4 separate regions of the Homo sapiens genome follow, and regions 1, 2 and 3 are each linked to region 4. The links are contacts of gene promoters, found by promoter capture Hi-C in human tissues and cell types (Jung and others, 2019). All regions are on one chromosome and are shown on one strand. Each heading gives the region's core, a stretch centred on a gene start or on the middle of the fragment in contact. The rest is flanking DNA. Distances are from core to core; before and after follow the strand shown. Region 1 overlaps ADK (adenosine kinase). Region 2 overlaps ADK (adenosine kinase). Region 3 overlaps ADK (adenosine kinase). Region 4 holds the start of COMTD1 (catechol-O-methyltransferase domain containing 1).

Region 1 (2,723 bases), core at 5-2,504, 1.0 Mb after region 4:
GGGTCCAAAGACTTGTTTTTTATCTTCAAGTACTTATTTGAAAATCAAAGTTAAAGATTAAAACCTTCCAAATATAAAATAGAACTTCAGCTAGCCACTTAGGACCAGCTGCTAGTAAAACATGTAAAACAAAGAAGTTACTCGAGCTCCCAGCAGCGTCATTGATGGCAGCAGCAGGCTGTCTAGAGCAGCTGCTGCAAAGACACTGGCTACAATTGGGGAGATGCAGCCAGGGCTGCATGCTCCACAGAGCCCATGGGAGCTGGGAACAGGTGGGAGCCACACCCACTTCCAAGTTGGCAGGGCTGGAGCCCCACCCTCCTGAGTGCAGCTGCAGCCACCCAGCCATGGCTGTGGACCCAGGTATCCCTGCACTCTCTGGGGCCCGGGAAGTCCCCCTTTCCCCTGCAGACTCAGAAGTGCCTGTTCCCATGCCTGGCCTCTCCTCGATCCCAGCACCTGCTCCAGGGTGGAGCAAAGTCGTGGCCAAGCCCAGGCACTGTCACAACCCAGCAGGTGTGCATGTGCTCGGGGCAGCACTGACATACCAGCCCCCTGCCCCCTCAGCCCCCTCTGGACTTTAGGTGCAGAGAAGCATGGGAAGGAGGCCAAGGTGGGACTGAGGGCAGCTCAATGGGGCCAGCAAGTACCCTCATCACCAACAGCCTGCACACTGTGGACAACATGATTGATGGCAGCAGGAGGCAGACACTCTCCTGGGAAAAAAGGGGTGGGTTCAGGTGAAGCCCTGCCTTCAAGCCAGGGACAGCCTGAAGCATGGGGGCCAGGCTATCAGTTCCAGGTGGGGTCCACTGAGGGGAGTGAGACTCATGGTGCTTTTTCCAGACCCACCCATAGCCGCCCATGGACCAATCAGCACACACTTCTCCCTTGTGAAGCCCATTAAAAACCCTGGACTCAGCCAGACTTACAGAAGAGACCTGGGACTACCAACTGTGGAAAGGAGTTACCCCCTCGGGGTCTCATCTCACTGAGAGGTGAACACTTGTCAGGACGACCTGCCTGCAGAAAGGAGCTACCCACTTCGGGTCTCCTGAGAGCTGTTCTGTTGCTCAATGAAGCTCCTCTCCACCTTGCTCACCCTCCAGTTGTCCCCATACCTCACTGTTCATGGATGCAGGATAAGAAGACCCACCAAGTGGCAGGACTGAAACAGCTGTAACACAAACAGAGCTAAAATATGCCTCACCCCACTCAGCACCTTGCAGGCAACAAGAAGGAAAGAAGAGCTGCAGCCCTTCTGAGAGCCCAGACCTAGGGGGTTCCCAATCCAGGGCTGTGACACTCTCTTTGGGGCTCTGTGGTTTCTGGTGTCTCCAAGCTTCTGGGCACCACCATATTATCCTCGTCCAGACGTGGGTTCCTACAGTGGAAGCCACTTGAGATGCATCAGATCCAGCCGCAAGCTTGCATGAAGCCAGCACCTGTGCCAGTGCCTGGAGATGCCCACCCCACCACAGCAGCCAGCATGAGTGGCTGTACACAGTGGCCAGATCCCATATTCGCTTGCTCACACACTCTTTGCCACGCCACTCTGCACCTGGCTCGCCCTTGGCAGGTGTGGGATCCAGGCTGGTAGCATGAGCCGAACGCAGCCTGCCAGGCCAAACAAGCAGAACAAGCCTGGCAGGCACAAGCAAACCTCAGGCAAAGGCTCCACCAACCACAGTGGCTTCTGGCTGGAAAAGCGACACCCTAAGGATCCTGTGACATCATCACACAGCTGCCAAGTCATAATCACTCTGATCACATTTGCCTGAAATTTTAAAAACAGTGATCCAAAAACATAATGTTGAGTGAAAAACAGCATACTAACAAAGACTACACATAGTATTAGCCCATAAACATTCATCTTCAGGTTATATATGCCTAACAAACATCTGGAGGCATGTTCACCAAAATAACAACACTGATTATATATGTGTGAAAGCTAATCATATAAATTGGGTCATTCTTGTCATATCTGACTAAAACAGGTGACAGGCTGGGGGGAAGAGCACTCAGCACACATAACATTGCTCCAAGAAGGTAATTCTCTGCAAGCCTGGCTGCTGAAACTGCCTGTTGTCATCTGAAAACAGTTTTATCCAGTAGCTACTGAAACAATGAGCTGTGACTCTAAAAGACTAGTTCTACTCACTGCAGTCACTCACCAATCAAAGCTTGCCACCTCCCCAAAACTAGTGCCAATGAGCTTTCTTTCAAAACAATACAAAACATTTCACCTTTTTATAAAACTTCCAATCTTATCTTTCTTCTTCAGACATAGCAAAGACCACCTGGTCTGTGTGTATATCCCAAATTTCAATTCTTGCTTCCCATATAAAATGTTCTACATTTATGGGTTTGTCTCTATACTTTATTTTACTTTTGAAATACACGATAAAATTTCAAATTTTTAAGTTGCTCTTTACTTTTATACATCATGATTTTTTTAAAATAGTGACCATGAATTAGTTGACTTCCTGAACAAAATATCTCACACTACACAAACAAAAGAGATCTAATTTTAAACCCATGAATTCATGTCCAACTGATTTTATTTTCTGTTTATTACAGCCTTTGATATATAACTGACATACAATAAACTGTAGACATTTAAAGTATACAATTTGATACGTTATATACCCATATAAGCATCACACTACCAGTTTTCCCCTAACGTAACCTTTATAGGGTTAAGAAAGTTATCGACATAGTTA
Region 2 (2,700 bases), core at 175-2,674, 1.0 Mb after region 4:
AAGTGAAGGTTACATTAAACTAAACCAAGAGCGACCTGAGTTAGATGTGAAAATAAAATGTCTTCAGCCAGGCATAGTGGCTCACACCTGTAATCCCAGCACTTTGGGAGGCCAAGGCAGGCAGATCACCTGAGGTCAGGAGTCTGAGACCAGCCTGGCCAACATGGCAAAACCCCATCTCTACTTAAAATACAAAATTTAGCCAGGCATGGTGGCGGGCACCTGTAATCCCAGCTACCTGGGAGGCTAAGGCAGGGGAATTGCTTGAACCCAGGAATGAGAGGTTGCAATGAGCCGAGATTGCGCCTCCAGCCTGGGCAGCAGAACAAGACTCTGTTTCAAAAAAATAAAAATAAAATAAAGTGTTTTACCTTGTACCAAACAATTGACATTTACTTTTGCATAAACCAGTGACAGAAACAAAATTATATTTGTCTATCATTACCATGAAGGTGGGTGATCCACCGGAGTAAGACCCAAAAATTAAGAGTGACAATTTATTTTTATTTTTTACTTTTTTCTGGTAGAGCAGTCAGAAAGAAAATAGGAACAATTTAATATTTTATCTGGAAAGAGAAAATAGCATGACATATTTCCCAGTAAGACTTTAGTCTAGATGATGGAATACAACACTACATCTTTTAATGTGAATACAGGAGAAATTATGTCCTGTGTAAACTTTATGTAGTGTAAATTATATAGTGTAGGTTATCATAATTGTTAGGATTAAGGTCATAGTGTTAATTATACTTTGTCATTATATAATTTTGAAAATCAGATAATTTACATATACATATATCAAGTTCATAGACAGAGTAAACTATTTACAACCAATGGTTTAATGCACTTACAGTTCCTTGTGTTTGTCTTCAGCCAAGATTTGGTCATTTGGTTTCAGAGAATACCTGTATAACAGAAACGAAAATTACACTCTTCATACACACACAGTGTCAACGTAAGTTAGCTGACCTCTTCAAAACAAGCACTCCAACACTGTTATAGGTCTCTGACTTAATTGATAAAACACCAAGAATGCCCAAGTAGACGGTTTTTTGCTGTTCTATTAGTCATTTCCAGGAACACCACTCCAGGAACTGAAAGGAGATCACCTTAACAATGCTTTGAAGATCTTCAATATTCTTCTGTAGTGAATCATCTGTAATGTCACACTTATTCAGCAGTTCAAAACTGATGGAACAACTACAACGTTAAGTATTTTGGACTTCACAAATAATATGTAAATCATTCATTAAATATATAGTAATCATATACTGTGAACCAGGCTATGTACTAAGTAGCATGACACAGGAGGGAAAGAAAAGCTTTGGAGGGTTTGTGTGTTTTTTGTTTGTTTGTTTATTTGTTGAGATAGAGTCTCACTCTGTCACCAAGGCTGGAGTGCAGTGGCACGATCTTGACTCAGTGCAACCTGTTCAAGCGATTCTCCTGTCTCAGCCTCCCCAGAAGCTGGGATTACAGGCACGCACCACCATGCCTGGCTAATTTTTGTATTTTTAGTAGAGAAGGGGTTTTAACATGTTGGCCAGGCTGCTCTGGAACTCCTGACCACAAGTGATCCAACCACCTCAGCCTCCCAAATTGCTGGGATTACTGGCATGAGTCACCGTACCCGGCCTCAAGTTTTGGAGTTTTTGATTGACCATTTACTAGCTAAGTGACCATAGGCAAGTACTCTACATCTTTAAGTCTCAGTTTCTCTGGTCATAAAATACAGGTTGCTATAAATACTAGATCAGGGATCTTTCACAGTACCATATATTTGTACTGCTGAAGGTAAACAGACTTTCTGAAGGGTACACAGAAATAGATAAACAACAATGGACAACAATTCCCAGGTCTTCAATTCTCATTCATACTCAACCCTTTCATAAAATTTAAAATTAATCTGCCTGAAAATGGATCATAGGTCCATTTGAAAGGTCATGTTGATTTTCCTCTCTGGTCTCCTCTTTCACAAGTACCTTTAAACCCACTGCTATGGTTTGAATATTTGACCCCCCTCAAATCTCATGTTGAAATTTAATCCCCAACGGGGCAATATTGAGAGCTGGGGCCTTTAAGAAGTAATTGGATCATGAGAGCTCCACCTTCATAAATGGATTAATCCATTCATGGATTAATGGGTTATCATGGGAGGGGAGCTGGTGGCTTTAAAAGAAGAGAAGAGACCTGAGCTACCATTAGCAGGTTCAGGCCCCTTGCCATGTGATACCCTGCACCACCTCAGGAATCTGTAGAGTCACTATCAGCAAGAAGGTTCTCACCAAGTGCAGCCCTTTGACCTTGGACTTCTCAACCTCCATAACTGTAAGAAATAAATTCCTTTTCTTATAAAATACCCAGTTTCAGGTATTCTAAGTAACAGAAAATGGCCTAAAATTCACTTTTTATTTATTTTTATTTTTTTATTATTATACTTTAAGTTTTAGGGTACATGTGCACATTGTGCAGGTTAGTTGCATATGTATGCATGTGACATGCTGGTGTGCTGCACCCACTAACTCGTCATCTAGCATTAGGTATATCTCCCAATGCTATCGCTCCCCCCTCCCCCCACCCCACAACAGTCCCCAGAGTGTGATGTTCCCCTTCCTGTGTCCATGTGTTCTCATTGTTCAATTCCCACCTATGAGTGAGAATATGCGGTGTTTGGTTTTTTGTTCTTGTGATAGTTTACTG
Region 3 (2,700 bases), core at 201-2,700, 1.1 Mb after region 4:
GAGACAGAGAGAGACAGAAAGAGAGTGAGCGCTGAGAGAGAGAGTACTGAGTAACTACTACTTTTGATCAATTTTCTAAACAATTTATTTCAACCCTATTTTTTTCCTAAAAGCCTAGCTTATCCTACTTTAGGAGAAAATAGTCAACTGAAATTTTTAACCTTCAGTAGTCTTTTTACAATTAGAATAGCTGAATCAAGATAAGTGGGTCTGAATAGTTTGCTCTTCGTAAGACTGATATGTAAATATTCCATATACTTTATCTAATCTTGTGGTCTGGCCCTATAAAAGCAATCAGATACATAACCCAAAATAGCTAAGTGCCTCCAAATAGCATACCAAAAATGTGGACCCATCCACTAATCTCTTCAACAAATGCTTCAAGCCCCAAAATAATAGCAAAGTTCTCTTCAAACACAACCAGTTTGTTAAGGGTGCGATAAAACAAGCACTCTCATATAAAATTAATGGGAGTATAAATTAGTACATTTCTACTATAAAGAATTTTGGCAATATGTGTCAGTAATTCCAACTTTTAGGCAACTATCATTAAAAGAGAGACAAATGTGTATAAAGATTTGTATACCCAGTTATTCATTTCAGCCTTATTAACAATAGCAAAAATTTATTATATCCCAAATAACCAGAAATAGGGTAATAGTTAAATAATTACAGAATGTTATGGAACTATTATAAAATGTTTCCACAGACTTTTTAGGGACATAAGAAAATGCTCATGATATAATGTTAAATGAAAAAAGCAAAACAAAAGGAAGTAGAGTATGAACTTGACTGTGTTTAAAAAAATACACACCATATATGCATAGAAAAAAATGATTGGAAAGAAATACACCTAAATGTTATTAGTTATCTCTGGAAAGTAGGATTATGCATAATTTTACTTTATTTACATTCATCCATCATTAATTTTCTAATACTGGTTTTATAGTTATAATTTTTATAATTATTATTAAATATCAACTATCTTTTTTCTTTTTTTTTTTTTTTTGAGATGGAGTCTTGCTCTGTCGCCCAGGCTGGAGTGCAGTGGCGCGATCTCGGCTCACTGCAGGCTCAGCCTCCCAGATTCACGCCATTCTCCTGCCTCAGCCTCCCGAGTAGCTGGGACTACAGGTGCCCGCCACCACGCCCGGCAAATTTTTTTTGTATTTTTAGTAGAGACAGGGTTTCACCGTGTTAGCCAGGATGGTCTCGATCTCCTGACCTCGTGATCCGCCTGCCTCGGCCTCCCAAAGTGCTAGGATTACAGGCGTGAGCCACCGTGCCCGGCCTTACTATCTTTTTTAAATGGCTTAAAAATACAAAACTTACTCCTGCCCTTTTTGAAAACTTGCATTTTTAAAATCATAACCTTGTTCCTGAGTTTTTTTAAAAAAAGAAATTCACAACCGTCAAAACTACCCTTATTTTTAGACAAATTGGGCTAATTTTATAAATGTTTCATTTTTTCATGTATAAAGATTCTTTAAGACAGGAATAACAAAAATAAGGTGTCCTCATGATTTTTTTGATTAATTTTAAATCACAACTTGACAAAAGTTAAAAGTGTGTATCCTACTTTTAGAGCTTTGCAAAGCCTTGACGAGCCCAGCTGTCATAACATGAATGTGGAATGTTTTCCCTGCATGTTACTTAAAAATACAAACCCTCATTTAATATGAATTCAAAAATCAGTAAAATAATATTATTTAAAGAATCTATATCATATCCAAAAAGAGAAACTTCTTAAAACTTGTCTCCCTAAAATAGTGTGCAGCCATGTAAAGGTCAGGGGCCTGGGAATGAGAAGGGATTCGAATCCTGGACTTACCAATAACTTTATTACTTTTGACAAATCATTACCTCTTTGACCATCAGTTTCCTTTTCTGAAACACAAAGGAGTTTGTTATAGGTGACATCTCAGGTTCCTTTAAGTTCTTATTAGACAATGAAAGAAAATACTTGTGCATACTTGTATCTCAAAACATATTGAATTTTTTTAAAGGAGTTGATAAATTTTAATGCAATTTTAGTTAGCTTTCATTATGGACAAGTTTATTCAAAGAAACACTGCTAAATCTATTAATTCTCTCCTGCAAAAGACATTGTAAGAATGCTATTATGTTGTTTGCTTTTAATAATCATCTTTAGATTCTTATATGTCACATTTCACTTTAACATCACATATTCAAACAAAATACAATCTTTAAATGGAAGCTGGCAATTTATTTCCCTGGAGAATTTGAAGAGTACAATAACATTTGACTGATTGAACTTTATTTAGTAAGAATTCTTAGCAAAACTCCCTCCCAGGCACACCCACACAGTACTTCTTTATTTTCTGTGAGCTACAAATCTTTGACTCTCAAAGGCAACTCCAATCTGAAAGTACAAGATAACACTGCTTATCAATTATTTATGCTGCACAGAACATATTTTTAAACTATAGAAGTGAATATCACTATCATTTCACAACAGAAAAGGGATTTTAATACAAAAATATAGAAAGTACATCACAGAAATAAAGAATAGCCCTTCTCAAAAGCTTGTTGCTAACCTTATGAAATATATTTTCTTTTTCCTTTTTTTTTAAGACAGGGTCCCACTGTCACGCAGGCTGAAGTGTACTGGCACAATCTTGGTTCACTGCAACTTCCGCCTCCCAGGCTCGAGCAATCCTCCCACCCCAGCTTCCTGAG
Region 4 (2,810 bases), core at 255-2,754:
GACCTGCATCTCTGAAACCAGCTTCACTAAGAATACCAACCAGAGGCCAGGCACGGGGGCTCACACCTGTAATCCCAGCACTTTGGGAGGCTGAGGCAGGAGGATCACTTAAAGCCAGGAGTTCGAGACCAGCCTGGACAACATAGTAAGACCCCTTCTCTTTAAAAAAAAAATTTTTTTTTTTAAATTAGCTGGGCACAGTGGTGACCGCCTGTGGTCCCAGCTACTTGGGAGGCTGAGGCAAGAGGATTGCTGAGCCTGGGAGCTCGATGCTGCAATAAGCAGTAATCTTGCCACTGCACTTCAGCCTTGCCAGAGACCTTGCCAAAAAAAAAAAAAAGAACACCAACGCCAGGCACAATGGCTCAGGCCTGTAATCCCAGCACTTTGGAAGGACGAGGCAAACAGATCACTTGAGGCCAGGAGTCTGACACCAGCCTGGCCAAAATAGCAAAACCCGTCTCTACAAAAAATACAAAAATTAGTTGGGTGTAGGGGTGCGTGCCTGTAGTCCCAGCTACTCCAGAGTCTGAGGCAGGAGAATCGCTTGAATCAGGAGGTGGAGGTTGCAGTGAGACCAGATTGTGCCACTGCACTCCAGCCTGGGTGACAGAGCGAGACTCAGTCTCAAAAAAAAAAAAAAAAAGGACAGCGTCAGCGTCTTTCACCTCCTCCGGAGTTTGGCGCATGGTAGGGGTTCAATCAGTGTTCTCTGGACAGTGTTTCAACAGAACAACCTTGCAAGGGAGCTTCACCGGCTTTCTCCCCAAGATGTCTTCATTCCAACCTACCAACATAACAGCAGCTGCCACTTATGTATTGTGCTACTGTGTGCGAAGCTGTGGGATCTGGTGCCTTTTATGGTAAGATTGTAGGCCTCATTTTACAGGAAGGAAACTGAGGCTCAGAGAGACTGGCAGGACCAAGATTAGACACTCGTATCCATCTGGCCCCCAAAAGCAGGATTTTAACAGCTAAGAATATGGTCTCAGTTCCACAGGCCCACCCCAGGGCTCCTGAACCCCAATTCGAGGCTGCATGCCCTCAAACCAGTTCCCTCACTCCTTCAGCCTGATGCTTTGGGGCATCTTGTCCAGGAGGCCTTCCCCCTTTAATCTCTATCTCTTGTACTTGTGACTATCTTGTAACTTACACTGGCGCCCTCCATACACAATTCACATATGCCCCCAAGGGGCCTCAGAATAAATGGTGGCGAGGAGAAAAAAGCATTGGCAGGAGGGGAATGGAGGCAGGCACCTGGACTGCGGGCACAGGCGGGAAAATTCAGATCTAGGCGCTTGGCCTGCTCCCCGCAGGGGCGCAGTTCCCGGCGCGGCCACCAGATCGCGCCCGGCTCTCTCGGGCGGGGCTTGCAGTAAGGCTGTGTGGCCGCCAGATGATGCCCGAGACCGCGGCTCCGCGGGTAGTGCCCCGACAAGGTGGAGCCCGGCGGGCCCGCGAGTCCGAGACCTGTCCCAGGAGCTCCAGCTCACGTGACCTGTCACTGCCTCCCGCCGCCTCCTGCCCGCGCCATGACCCAGCCGGTGCCCCGGCTCTCCGTGCCCGCCGCGCTGGCCCTGGGCTCAGCCGCACTGGGCGCCGCCTTCGCCACTGGCCTCTTCCTGGGTGAGCAGGACCTGGTCCCGGCGGGCGGGTGGGCGGGCGCAGAGTAGGGCGCGGCGTGGCTCAGGTTAATCCAACACCCTCTCCCCGTCAGGGAGGCGGTGCCCCCCATGGCGAGGCCGGCGAGAGCAGTGCCTGCTTCCCCCCGAGGACAGCCGCCTGTGGCAGTATCTTCTGAGCCGCTCCATGCGGGAGCACCCGGCGCTGCGAAGCCTGAGGCTGGTCAGCAGGGCGCGGGACGGAAACGGGCGTCCCTCTCGACCCCTGCGGGTCCCACGTGGCTGTGTGACCTTGGGCTGGGCCCTGGCCCTCCCTGGGCTTCCGGCTTCCCTGGGCCGGGTGCGGTGGGCGTTCCGAAGGGCCAGTCCCCCAGGCCACGCCCAGAACCGCGCCCCTGGGGCTTGGGACCCCCAGGGCGAAGGTGGGTGACCTGCATGGCTGGTGCCACCCTCTCCTTTCACGCAGCTGACCCTGGAGCAGCCGCAGGGGGATTCTATGATGACCTGCGAGCAGGCCCAGCTCTTGGCCAACCTGGCGCGGCTCATCCAGGCCAAGAAGGCGCTGGACCTGGGTAGGGGCACGCGGCCGGGATCCCGGAGGGCCGAGGTTTCCGGGCCGACCCCCACTCTGGGCTGAGCCCGTCTGTGTCCTGGTCCCAGGCACCTTCACGGGCTACTCCGCCCTGGCCCTGGCCCTGGCGCTGCCCGCGGACGGGCGCGTGGTGACCTGCGAGGTGGACGCGCAGCCCCCGGAGCTGGGACGGCCCCTGTGGAGGCAGGTGAGCGCCCGCGCCTAGCTCTGCAGCCCCAGGCGGGGGCGCAACGGCTGACCCGCTCCCTCCGCAGGCCGAGGCGGAGCACAAGATCGACCTCCGGCTGAAGCCCGCCTTGGAGACCCTGGGTGAGCACCGAAGCGGGAAGGGCTTTGAAGCCATTCATTGCAAACGAGGCTGCTGTGTGGCCGAGCTGTGACTGGGCCTGCCGGGCAGGTTAAGGGCAGGGCCGGTTGTCACAGAGCCCGGGCCGGCCTGGGAGGGGCCTCAGGGCCGCCGGGGCCGCGGACTCAGCCGCACCTGCCCTCCCTCCCCCCGCAAGACGAGCTGCTGGCGGCGGGCGAGGCCGGCACCTTCGACGTGGCCGTGGTGGATGCGGACAAGGAGAACTGCTCCGCCTACTACGAGCGCTGCC

Evidence for each region. Contacts are between HindIII fragments. The study calls those that stand out against the background at their distance.
Region 1: a contact is called between a fragment that was not itself captured here and the fragment with the promoter of COMTD1 in region 4, in 1 of the 25 tissues and cell types used here (dorsolateral prefrontal cortex).
Region 2: a contact is called between a fragment that was not itself captured here and the fragment with the promoter of COMTD1 in region 4, in 2 of the 25 tissues and cell types used here (adrenal gland and spleen).
Region 3: a fragment that was not itself captured here is called in contact with the fragment with the promoter of COMTD1 in region 4 in 1 of the 25 tissues and cell types used here (dorsolateral prefrontal cortex).

What each region holds. Positions count from the first base shown.
Region 1 is chr10:74,205,846-74,208,568 of GRCh38, reverse strand. All of the region lies in intron 2 of ADK (adenosine kinase), which reads right to left. Among named protein-coding and RNA genes, the nearest start is that of ADK, 56 kb to the right of the region's middle. RefSeq lists enhancers at 1,028-1,558, 1,559-2,091. The HindIII fragment of the contact is 5,622 bases long and covers 1-2,723 here.
Region 2 is chr10:74,222,743-74,225,442 of GRCh38, reverse strand. ADK (adenosine kinase) reads right to left here. Exons shown (of 11, transcript NM_006721.4): 3 at 852-905. Among named protein-coding and RNA genes, the nearest start is that of ADK, 73 kb to the right of the region's middle. The HindIII fragment of the contact is 3,256 bases long and covers 1-2,700 here.
Region 3 is chr10:74,169,109-74,171,808 of GRCh38, reverse strand. All of the region lies in intron 1 of ADK (adenosine kinase), which reads right to left. Among named protein-coding and RNA genes, the nearest start is that of ADK, 19 kb to the right of the region's middle. The HindIII fragment of the contact is 7,141 bases long and covers 1-2,700 here.
Region 4 is chr10:75,234,651-75,237,460 of GRCh38, reverse strand. COMTD1 (catechol-O-methyltransferase domain containing 1) reads left to right here and starts at 1,504. Exons shown (of 7, transcript NM_144589.4): 1 at 1,504-1,626; 2 at 1,718-1,845; 3 at 2,089-2,194; 4 at 2,283-2,401; 5 at 2,469-2,523; 6 at 2,718-2,810. The coding sequence starts at 1,533. RefSeq lists silencers at 1,256-1,550, 1,586-1,725, 1,886-1,965, 2,096-2,385, 2,546-2,775. The HindIII fragment of the contact is 14,083 bases long and covers 1-2,810 here.